Regions from separate parts of the Homo sapiens genome. Here region 1 is linked to region 2. The links are contacts of gene promoters, found by promoter capture Hi-C in blood cells and fetal thymus (Javierre and others, 2016). All regions are on one chromosome and are shown on one strand. Each heading gives the region's core, a stretch centred on a gene start or on the middle of the fragment in contact. The rest is flanking DNA. Distances are from core to core; before and after follow the strand shown. Region 1 overlaps NXPE3 (neurexophilin and PC-esterase domain family member 3). Region 2 holds the start of LNP1 (leukemia NUP98 fusion partner 1).

Region 1 (5,118 bases), core at 790-3,289, 1.4 Mb after region 2:
ATCCTCACAATCTCTTTGGGGCCAATAGAGTGCTGTTATTTGTTACTGAGAAAGGAAACGAAGGGATAAATCACTGAAGTGGGGTTAGCCTTCCCCATTGCCTGGGAATTGGGTTGTCCTGACCTGACAATTTAAGTTACAATTCAAACATCATTTTGGAAAGGCCATCCTTTTACCAACTGAAACGAATAACAGTCCCTGGCCACTCTATACTAGTGGTTCTCCCACTTGGCTGTATGTTGTAATCATCTAGGGACCTTTTTAAAAAAAGCTACTTCTTGGGCCTATTCCTACAGATTCTGATTTAATTGTTTGAGTGGGGCCCAGTTGTTTGTATTTTAAAAAGCTTCCACGATGATTATTAATGTTCATGCAGGGTTGAGGACCACAACCTATCAATGTGTTCAATATTTAAAAAATAGCACTTAGTACAGTGTGACTTATATAACTGATTTTATTACTTCTCCACTTGCTATGTAACCTCCATGAATACATGGGGCCCTGCTTTGGAAGAAGGGCAAGGGAAGGTCCAGATGAGTCAGCACTTTGTGCATGTGAGGCTGCGGGACACGAAGGAGAAATGGAATCTGTGGAAACAAGTCCTGCAGACTACTGCCCCTGCTTCATCTTTTTTCAAGGATTGACCCTATTTGGTTAACCCATCATTGTTAGGGTCCTGGATGGGTCTCCAGTTCTTCATTCTGTAGATCCTGCCCTGTTTCAAGGTCTTACTCAGCATCCTATGAAATACAGCTACTCTTTGCAAAGTTTGAAATATATGCATTTAAGTGTAGATATTTTCCATGTAAATCTGTGCTTTTGTCTCTTACTATTGTTCTGAACTATATATTCTGAACTAAAGTTCCAGACACTTGCTGTGACTAGTACAGTTACATTTATTTGGCCAACAGGTCAGAGTAGTTAGGATAGGGACTGCCTCAGAAACTGGACAGTTTCTATGCAGTTGTCCTATAATATATTATCTTTGTGGAATGGTTGCCTGAGAACATTAGCTCCCCAGAGGATAGGGTTGCTGTCTGATTTTCTTTGTTTAATATTGAACTCAGGAATTTCATTTGTGTTACTGACAATTGTAATTCCAAATGATGTAAGTGACTGCTTTGTAATTCTCTTGTGAGATGGGGGTAGGAACCCTAATGGCAGTCTGGGGTTGTTGTCACAGGCCATAAAGAAGTTAGATTGGCCACTATGAGTCTTGGATATGGAAGTAGGCTTAATAAAAATTTGGCAGAACACTTCCAACAAATACTGGGTTCCACATGTAAGGCAGAGCATGCATTTAACTTTTTGCTTGTTCTTTGCACATATTATAAAAATAAAGCATGAGTAAGTGGTGGTCTGACATTTGAAAACAGGATCACTCAAGTTTAGATTCCTTGAATAATAACTTTTAGATCTGTACAGATACCCCTTTTTTCTGTAGGGGAAAACAAGATCATTGGATCATTGAACTAAATAATTATAATAGTTTTTAAGAAAAATAACATTTGGAGCTTTTATCTTTGGTTTATATTTTTTCACTTATATCGCTGTTTATAAAGTTTTGACCTTCAGCCAAGGTCTGAGAGTGATTTACCATGTTGAAGTTCATGTATTTAAATAGACTATTTAAATTACTGTTTTTTATTAGTAAGGAAAAGGAAACGTTCCTATGCCCACTCCTCCCACTATATCATGTATAACTCTCTTGCCTGTAAAATTGTACTCTTAATTTCTAATGTTTTTCTTTACTTCATTTTCAGTATCTTTAACCTTTATATCATATGCATATTTTTGTTTCAGCAAGAAGAATTGTATAGAAATGTAAAAAACATTTATGTGTGCTTCACATGTGGCATGAAAAAAATGAGGACCTCTGGTCAAAATTGCCTGAGTTCAGAATTTCATGCTGGAAGGAAAGTTAGACGTAACTTCTAATTTCTAGTTCCAGTAAGCATCTCTTCTTGGAAAATTTCCAAAAAAGGTAAATTACATTGAATTATATATTTTTATTTTTTTGGTTAATCTGAGGAACTTTTTTCTATAATCATTCCCTGCCAACACTGTTGTTCTTACTTGATTTTAAGGCTCCTTGCAAATAGCATTCCTGTTATAATGCGTAGGTTTTATGTTTATAGGAAAATACCAAAAACCTGTTACAGTTTTTTTTTTACACTACAATTACCTCATGCCGTGAAATAGTTTTCTTCTTTTACTTAAAAATCTTTCAGTTTAAGTTGAATTGATTTCACAGATGTGATTTAATGCTTTGTTTCTGCTATGTCTCATCTTTAATTTTTACTTTTAGAAATTGGTTTTATTCTTTATTTTATTTCATTTTTTTTTGAGACAGAGTCCTGCTCTGTTGCCCAGGCTGGAGTACATTGGTGTGATGATCATGGTTCACTGCAGCCTCGACCTCCCAGGCTCAAGCAATTCTCCTACCTCAGCCTCCTGAGTAACTGGGACTATAGGTGCGTACTACCATGCCCAGCTAATTAAAAAAAAATTTTTTGTGTGTGTGGAGTTGGGGGTCTCACTATCTTGCCTCAGCTAGTCTCAAACTCCTGGTCTCAAGCAAACCTCCTGTTTTGGCCTCCCAAAGTGTTGGGATTATTGGCGTGAGCCACCATGCCTGGCCCAGCTTTATTCTTTGTATTTGTGATTTTTATTTCCTGGTGAAAAATTAGGACATACAGATAAAGGAGAAAACAAAAACTGCCAAGAGGTGACAACTATTAAAATTTTAATATATATCTTTTCTTTTTTTTTTGAGACGGAGTCTCGCTCTGTCACCCAGGCTGGAGTGCAGTGGCGTGATCTCCGCTCACTGCAAGCTCCGCCTCCCAGGTTCACGCTGTTCTCCTGCCTCAGCCTCCCGAGTAGCTGGGACTACAGGCACCCGCCACCACGCCCAGCTAATTTGTTGTATTTTTAGTAGAGACAAGGTTTCACCATGTTAGCCAGGATGGTCCCGATCTCCTGACCTTGTGATCCGCCTGCCTCGGCCTCCCAAAGTGCTGGGATTACAGGCGTGAGCCACTGCACCTGGCCTGGTATATATCTTTTCAAAGAGAGGTCTGTCTAGTGTGCCTCACGCAACATCTATTTAGGTGTACAAATGGGTCTCTCAAATGTCAGTGCTCTACTTACAGCACAGAGTCAGGTCTTTTCCTGGCACAATCCTCCTAAATTATTGTCAGTAGAAGCCTCTAGCTGGGAGGGACTTCTTGCATTGCTGCCTCTGGTCCTGTAGTTCTTTTGCTTTAGAGTCTCCTGCCCTTGCCTTCTTTCTGCATCACTGACAGCTGTGTGCTGCTGCTGCCTGGCTGAACCACACTGATGTCCTTTAAATGGCTAGTGTCCACACAATGCATGACCACACCTGCCTATGGTGCAACTAAATTCCTGTGGACTACCATCTTTGGTCTTTTCCCTCTCTGGCCATTGTGGAAACCTGATTTTTTTTTTATGGACAACTTTTTGAGAAGGATTTCAATGGCAGAACAGTTGGGACCCTGATGACAGAGTTATCCTCTATTTTACAGCCAGTTTCTTCCAAGAAGTTATAGACAGTTTGAGGTGGATGAGTGTCTGGATATTGGAGAGAGGAGGTGTCAGGAAATGGAGAAGCACAGTCTTTCACATTTCCTGGCATCCCTGTGGAGGTGGCCAGGACTGGTGGATTTATTTCTCCTTAAGAAGGGGCTGACATCTTGTCTAATATGAGTGTAAGCTTTTCAAGGGGAATTTCTGGCACTTAGTACAGTGTGTGGTATAGCGTAGGCCTCCATAATTATTTGTTGCATAGATTGTTGAATCATTGTGTACCATGTAAAGAACTAAGTACCTTGAGCAAATCAGAAAAGTATAATGCAGTATCATTAAGTTGCTTTTCTCTGATATATGGTTTTTTAAAAAAATACAGTCATAATTGGTATAGTCTAGTTTGAGAGATAAGAAATACAAATAGAGGGAGCATGAGGGAGAAAAAAATACAAATAGAGATCAGCAGAGAAGTGAAAATAATAAGTGCTATGGGAACTCTGAGGATGGAGAGCTTGTTGGAATGGCTCACCCTTGTCTCCTTTGTGAAGCTGATTGGCATTGTCATTGTGGTTGGGACTGGTTCAGACAGGTGAGGCAGAGGAGTGAGAGAATGGGGGCTTGCCAGGTCCAACACAAAGTGGAGGGGAGAGTTGATGCAGCTGAGTTATTCTGAGATACTCTGCACCATGATTTTGTACCCTTTCTGCCTTTATTTCTGTGTCCTGCCCTTCATGGAAAGTCTCCCTGGGGATAGAATACTAGGACATTTTCTGTTTACCTGTATCAAAATGGCAAGTGGAAAGAGCATTTGAATTTGTTACGTGGGAGAACAGTTAGGCACTGCTGACTCTGAAGTCCTCTGCCTCTAGCAGGTGTGATGAAGGATTTTGGGATCCTGTTACCCATTTTTCAAGCTTGACTTTCCTCTCCCACATCTTCCAGGCAGGTGTGTGTCTTCCTGTGCCTTATCATGTAGCTGAGGGAGCATCAGGACCACATATGTGGTGGGGAGAGCTGGAAACCTAAAGAGTGTGTCGCGTCTCCTGCCATACCTCTGTATGAGAGGGGTAGCACTTCTTGTTTGCCAGAGAATGTCAGGATGCTTTGCACAGTATCCCAGAGCTCTTCATGAAAACAGTTTCCTCTTCATGTTCTTTAAGTGTAATTAATGTAGCAGTGTTACATAACTTAAAGGGAAGGGGAAGGGAAGTGATTTTATTGACTGAGGTCTCTGTAGAAATTTAGCAGTTACTTTTATTTCACAATTTCTGAGTTTGAAGACATACTTCCTTACTTTCTTAAAAGTTAAAACCTAAATAGGCAATAGGGGAAATATTGTATTTACACGGAAGCCTGACACTGGGAAAGGAAACTTTGAGGAGATTGTCTGGAAATGAAAAGACGTTACTGTGCTCTGGCTCTTTGCTTTCTCCTTGTGACTTTGGGCCTTAGATAAGGTTAAGGAAGAGGAAATGTGATGTTTTTCCTCTCACCCCACCCTAGGCCATTGCAATTGGTGATGTTCTCTCATCTCTCCTCTTTGAAGGATTTCTTTGAAGAAAAATGTGC
Region 2 (5,895 bases), core at 571-3,070:
TAAGAAGTCACTCCCATTTTTTTTTTTTTTTTTTTTGTATGTGTGTGTAGGCCTGGACCTGGGGCAGGGGGCTGTGTGCAACCAAGCCTGGTGAGCATTGCTGTGGCCGCTACTCTTGTGCAGCAAGAGGGGACAGTGCAGTGCAGAGCGTTTTCTGACAAAGGCCAAGGGGTCCGGAGTGCAAAAGGACACCTTGGGGCTGGGGCATGGCAGGAGAGGTTACGGGCGCTGAGTGCTTGCAGCCAAGGGGGCTTCGGGGTTGCTGAGAGAGGACGAGCCTTGGGAGCTTGACAGTTCTGCTTACAGTTCAGAGGCTGTAAAACAAATGCCACTGAACACCATTTCACTCTTTAGAACCTGTGTAGTCTTTCTTTTTCTATGTAGAAAGCCATCTAATCGTTTTTGTTTTTGTTTTGCTTTTGTCAACTAACCGTCACTGTAGTTGCCCACTTACCCCCAGCAAAAACACACTCCAAAAGGGGGAGTGGCTCATTATTAAAAGGCTCTTAGCGATTAGGTTGTAGGCTTTGGAAATCACAGAAACAGTTCGTATCACGATGTACCAATTGTTAATCGAATTTAGCTTCCTTCACTTATTAAATACAATCATCACATTTGCAAATGCCCCACTCCCATCTACAACACTAGGGATAAATGCTGTGTCACTGAGAAGAAAAGCAAAGGATTTTTCTGAAACCAAAAGCAAACTGTCAAAGAATGCCAGTAACCTGTCATCGAGCTACTCTATGCCCTCCACTGGCAGCCAGAAATGAGTCTCCCTAAACCCAAGTGTTGTGCTGCCGCTTGGCAGCTTCCGTCTGATGGGAAGCCCCCTCACTGACACAACCCGCCAAGGAAAAGCTGCACGAGCCAGTTTCCTCCTCTACGGCCTGGGGCTGCTTCTCACCATGTCCAAGTGAGCACCGGGACCTTCAGGGTGTCCGCTGCCCGGGGCCGGACTGGCCCTGCCCTCCGGGGTCTTCCGTTCGCTGTTGCGCTTCAGGCCGCTGGCGTCGCCCCGGCCTCTGGCCTCCCGGCGCCGTTGCTGCCGACTCCACAGGTATATGGCACCCGCGCCCAGCAGCAGGGGTGCCCCGACCGCCAGAGCCAGCTGCCATCGCGGCAGCCCCCCCGTGCCCGGGCCCGCAGTCCCGCCGCCGCCCACCCCACTCCCGGAGCTCGGTACAGCGGCTGCGACCACCGCTGCCTCCACAGGTTTAGAGGCGGCCATGACAAGTGTCCTCTGCCACCGCCTCCCTGTCTGTCGCGAGCGCCACAATCACCAAACAGCGTGCGAAGGAAGACCGAGGGAGGGAAGGAAAGCAATGAGCGAGCGAGCACGCTAGGCAGAGAGAGCGGACGACAGAAAAGGGCCAGAGGTCACCGGAAGCCCAGGGCATGCCGGGCCAGACCTGGCCGTCCTTCTCCTCCAGTATCAACCGAAGAGGGAGAGGAGGGGCGGAAATCACTTCCGGGTTAAGGGAAAGCGTGGGTGTGAGTAGGAGTCTTCGGAAACCCTTTTTCTTTCTTTTCGCCCCGCTGCTGTTCGGGAGATGGACTTCTGGAGTCCCCGTCGTAGCTGGTGTTGTCCCCTCTACCTTCAGGAAAGAAGGGCAGATGGCCCTCTTGCCTACTGAAGCCGAGGAGGGGCGCGTATACAGCGGGCTAAGGGCGCTCAAGAGATCCGAGTGGAAGAAAAAGCAGCGGCACAGCACTGGAATGGGCGGGAGTGGCAGAAGAGTTGTGAAGGCTATTGGCTAGCAAGGGTGGTGGGCGGGGCGTAGACCGAGCTACCCAGTTTACTGGTCGATTTCGGATCCAGTTTTCCAGTTATAGCCACGTTGGCACCTCTTGAACCTCTGTGGCCGTTAGCACGGTTTTCTGCCCGCGTGCCCGAGAAACCAACGGATTAGAAGGACTTTTAAAGATGTGTGAGGAAAGAGCTCACCGCTGAAGAAGGCTGCTGCATCACTGAACTTCTTATCACTAACATAGCGAGATTTTAGTTTGGACGAATTTGAGGTTATAGGGGAGATAGCGATGGCAGAAGACTAGGTGGAAATGGCACATCTAGGTTGGCTGCAGTCGAAACGGTTTGAGCGTGGTCGCTGTGGCTCATCGTCGGCACCAATTAACGAAGCGATGACATCTGCGTTGTTAGGGGTTTCTTAAACTGAGTTGGTAGAAATGCGAAGCGTCAGGGTTCCCGCCGGCTTCGAGCCTTTCTTGGCGTATTTGTATCTTGAGCTGATTTCTGCGTCAGCCCACATCTCGCTCTGATCCGCACGCCCCCCGGGTTGTTTTGCAGTAGCAGTCTCAGCCCTCTTCTCGTCTCATTCCCAAATCGTAATTTCAGTTCACAGCTTTTTATCTATAATAGCTTTATCAACTCTTTTTCCGATGCTCTGCACCAGATCTCTTAAAATATAAAATTACCTTGCAAGGTATTGTTTGGAATACACGGTATTTTCATGAAGACAACTATTAATAGAAAAATCAGAGTCCAGAACTATGGTTCTCCATTTCTGGTATACTGGTTTGCAGAAGCCTTACATTAAGATTTCATAAATGATTGTTTTGCTGTTAAGTGCAACAACATCACAGTAGAGCTACATAAAGATTGAAAGGAGATATTTTATCAAGTGGCACCAGAATGGACTGATTAAAATAGAATGGCCTAATTGGAAAGAATTTCAGGATCACCGGTTTCTCCTGCTTCATGTAAGTTCCTATTAGTAAATTGCCTTCAGGCAATAGGGTTTCTTAGCAACAGACTAAAAAAATGGGCTAAAAATAGCAGTGGAATTGAGTTGATCGTTGCAGGCAATAGGCTTTTCTCCCCTCCTGATCCCCCAATCCCCAAAGGCAAATTTTCTGCCCCTTAATATAAGCTCTGCCTTGCCTTTTTCAGAACACAAGTTAGGATTTTTTTTTTTTTCTGAAATTTCAGTTTTGCTGTGGCCTCTTGGAGGATTGTAGAGTGCTAACAATTACAAACTTGATAGGAACTAAAACATATTTGAAGTTTTTTTTTTAAACCTTTTTCTTATTTATTGGAGTAAGCAATACACTGTTACGGTTAAACTCCAAAAGTTACAGAGTTTACTGTGAAAAGTCTTCCTTCAGTCCCTGTCCTCAGCTGCACAGTTCCCCTCTCCAAAGGGAATCGGTGTTATTTTCTTGAAACATTTTTTGGATTAATATTTATCTAAAGGCCTGATTTTGTTTGGCTTTATTTTTAAGGTTGGCATTAGTAAACGAATCTGTTCTGGTTACTTTTATACTTTGATAAACATCTCATTTCCATTCTCTAGCCTATGCTATTCTCTCATTTTCTCCTCCATTTCCTAATTGATGGTACTGTAGAGCCAAATAGAGTGTCGCTTACTGGCTTTGGGACCTTACTGATCTGATGCATGTTTTTCTAATCTGTGAAATGGTGAAAACATCTACCTCTCAGGCTATAGTAAAGATTTAATTAGAGAATATTTAAAGTTCTTTTGATGTTTGTTACAAAGCAATAGATATTTGATGATTAGTTCTCAGTTTTTCTAAATTTTAAAGTAAAGAAGTAAAATACTGCCTTTCATTTCTAAAAAATTAAAGTTCTGTATATGTGAACATAGACATTATCTTTTTCTTGGTAGATTAGTGGAACTCAACTGAAGAAGCTTTCTTCACCTTTGATCTGTATCTTAGGAGGCAGTTAAATGAGATAGTCTAATGGACTAGGTTGTGGAAGACCTGAGTTTTTTTTTTTTTTGAGATGGAGTTTCGCTCTTGTTGCCCAGGCTGGAGTGCAATGGCGCCATCTTGGCTCACTGCAGCCTCTGCCTGCAGGCTTCAAGCAATTCTCCTCCCTCAGCGTCCCAGTAGCTGGGATTATAGGCGGCTGCTACCATGCCAGGCTAATTTTTTGTATATTGGCCAAGCTGGTCTTGAACTCCTGACCTCAGGTGATCTACCTGCCTCGGCCTCCCAAAGTGCTGGGAATACAGGCATAAGCCACCATGCCCAGCTGACCTGAATTCTTATTCTAAATTTTAATACCACTGAGTTGTGTGTGTGACCATGGGCAACTCTGCTTTCTTTATAATGTGAGGAGGGGTGGATTAGATTATTTTTAAGGCTCCTTATTGTTTTAAAATGATGTAATTCTGTCCCTTCAATTGTCATTGCTACATGAAAGGCCTTTCAGATTGCTAGAGTTGGTAAATAGCTGGTTGACTGGTGTCCAAACCTTCCAGCCAGTGCACAAATCTGCTTATATTAAGCATGTACATATAGAACAGCTCTATTCTCTTTCAGCTGTCTGATGTTTTCATTCTGTTTTTCCTTACTGAAAAATTACTGAAAAGAATTGTCTACATCTGTTACTTATTTGGCACCCATTTCATCCAAAATCTGTTGTAATCTAGTTTACAACTTTATAATTAGGCTGAAAGTGCTTTAGAAGTCATAAAATTCATTGTGGTTTTTTTGTGGGTGGGGGAGGTTGGCTGTCACCCACTTTTACTTGATACCACTGATTATTCTCTCCTTGAAATGTTCTTTTCCTTGGCTTCAGGAGAATAGAGTCTTCTGGTTCTTCTACGCTCTGACCAAACTCTAGATCAGTGCTGTCCATCACAGCTTTCTATGATGCTGGAAATGATTTATATTTATGATGTCCAATATGGTAGCCACTAGCCACATGTGGCTATTGAGCACTTGAAATGTAGTGTGACAAAGACTACAGTTTTCATTATTTAATTGATTTAAGTAGTATCATGTGGCTAATGACTACCATATTGGACAGCACAGCTCTAGATATTCCTCAAGTGAGGAATTTATTAGAATATGTCTTCTTCTTTATCTTCAATCTCTCCATTAGTAACCAAAGTAAATCTCATTGCTTCAGGTACCATTTCTGTGCAGATAATCACTGTCTATATATCTTTTGGCATAGCTTCCCTTTTTACCTCTAGCCCTATATTTCTTACTACTTACTGAGCAGTTTTGCTTGGATTCCTGACTTTTGTCAAAAATATAACTCATCATTTTCCCCACTCATTCTTTCTCTTTGTGTTATCCTTTTTTTTTTTTTTTTTCCAAGATGGAATTTCGCTCTGTTGCCCAGGCTGGAGTGCAGTGGTGTGATCTCGGCTTACTGCAACCTCTGCCTCCTGGGTTCAAGCGATTCTCTTGTCTCAGCCTCCCGAGTAGCTGGGACTACTGGCGCCCGCCACCACACCTGGATAATTTTTTGTATTTTTAGTAGAGACGGGGTTTCACCGTGTTAGCCAGGATGGTCTCGATCTTCTGACCTCGTGATCCGCCCGCCTCGGCCTCTCAAAGTGCTGGGATTACAGGCATGAGCTACTGTACCCAGCCTGTGTTATCCATTTTTTCTAATAATACCACTATTACCTTAGCAGTTACTCATATTTGAAACCATAGACCTTTTTAGACCTCTCTCTTTTTCATCCTTACCTACCCAAGCACAAATGATTATGCTGTTGTATTTATATACACACATAAACACAAAATCAGCTGTGAAGTCTTCAACAAATTCAACTTTGTTGTAATATCTTTCTTATAGTTTTTTCACCCATTCTGACACTTCTTAGTTCATATAAGTGAAAACTCCTAAGAGTATGTATAACACATAACAGATACTCAATAAATAGTTTCTTCCCATCTTAGTACAGGCTGCTATAACAAAAATATCATAAAACTACTTAGCTAATAAACTATAGAAATTTATTTCTCACAATTCCTGAGGATGGGGGTTTGAGATCAGTGTGCCAGCATGGTCAAATTCTGTAAGAGCCCTATTCTGGGTTGAGGACTGCAAATTTGGTTTGTGTCCTCAAATAGTGGAAAGGGGCAAGAAAGTTCTCTGGAGTCTCATTT

Evidence for each region. Contacts are between HindIII fragments. The CHiCAGO score rates a contact against its expected background, and 5 or more counts as called.
Region 1: a contact is called between a fragment that was not itself captured here and the fragment with the promoter of LNP1 in region 2, in 1 of 17 cell types (fetal thymus). The highest score is 5.5, in fetal thymus.

The regions. Positions count from the first base shown.
Region 1 is chr3:101,780,307-101,785,424 of GRCh38, forward strand. NXPE3 (neurexophilin and PC-esterase domain family member 3) reads left to right here. Exons shown (of 8, transcript NM_145037.4): 2 at 1,804-1,984; 3 at 2,354-2,474; 4 at 5,096-5,118. Among named protein-coding and RNA genes, the nearest start is that of NXPE3, 3.7 kb to the left of the region's middle. The HindIII fragment of the contact is 3,390 bases long and covers 345-3,734 here.
Region 2 is chr3:100,399,719-100,405,613 of GRCh38, forward strand. It overlaps LNP1 (leukemia NUP98 fusion partner 1), which reads left to right and starts at 1,821. Exons shown (of 4, transcript NM_001085451.2): 1 at 1,821-2,721. TOMM70 (translocase of outer mitochondrial membrane 70) reads right to left here and starts at 1,371. Exons shown (of 12, transcript NM_014820.5): 1 at 908-1,371. The coding sequence starts at 1,231. RefSeq lists enhancers at 1-708, 1,390-1,499, 1,550-1,599, 1,610-1,699 and silencers at 1,070-1,149, 1,760-1,839. The HindIII fragment of the contact is 4,606 bases long and covers 1-3,669 here.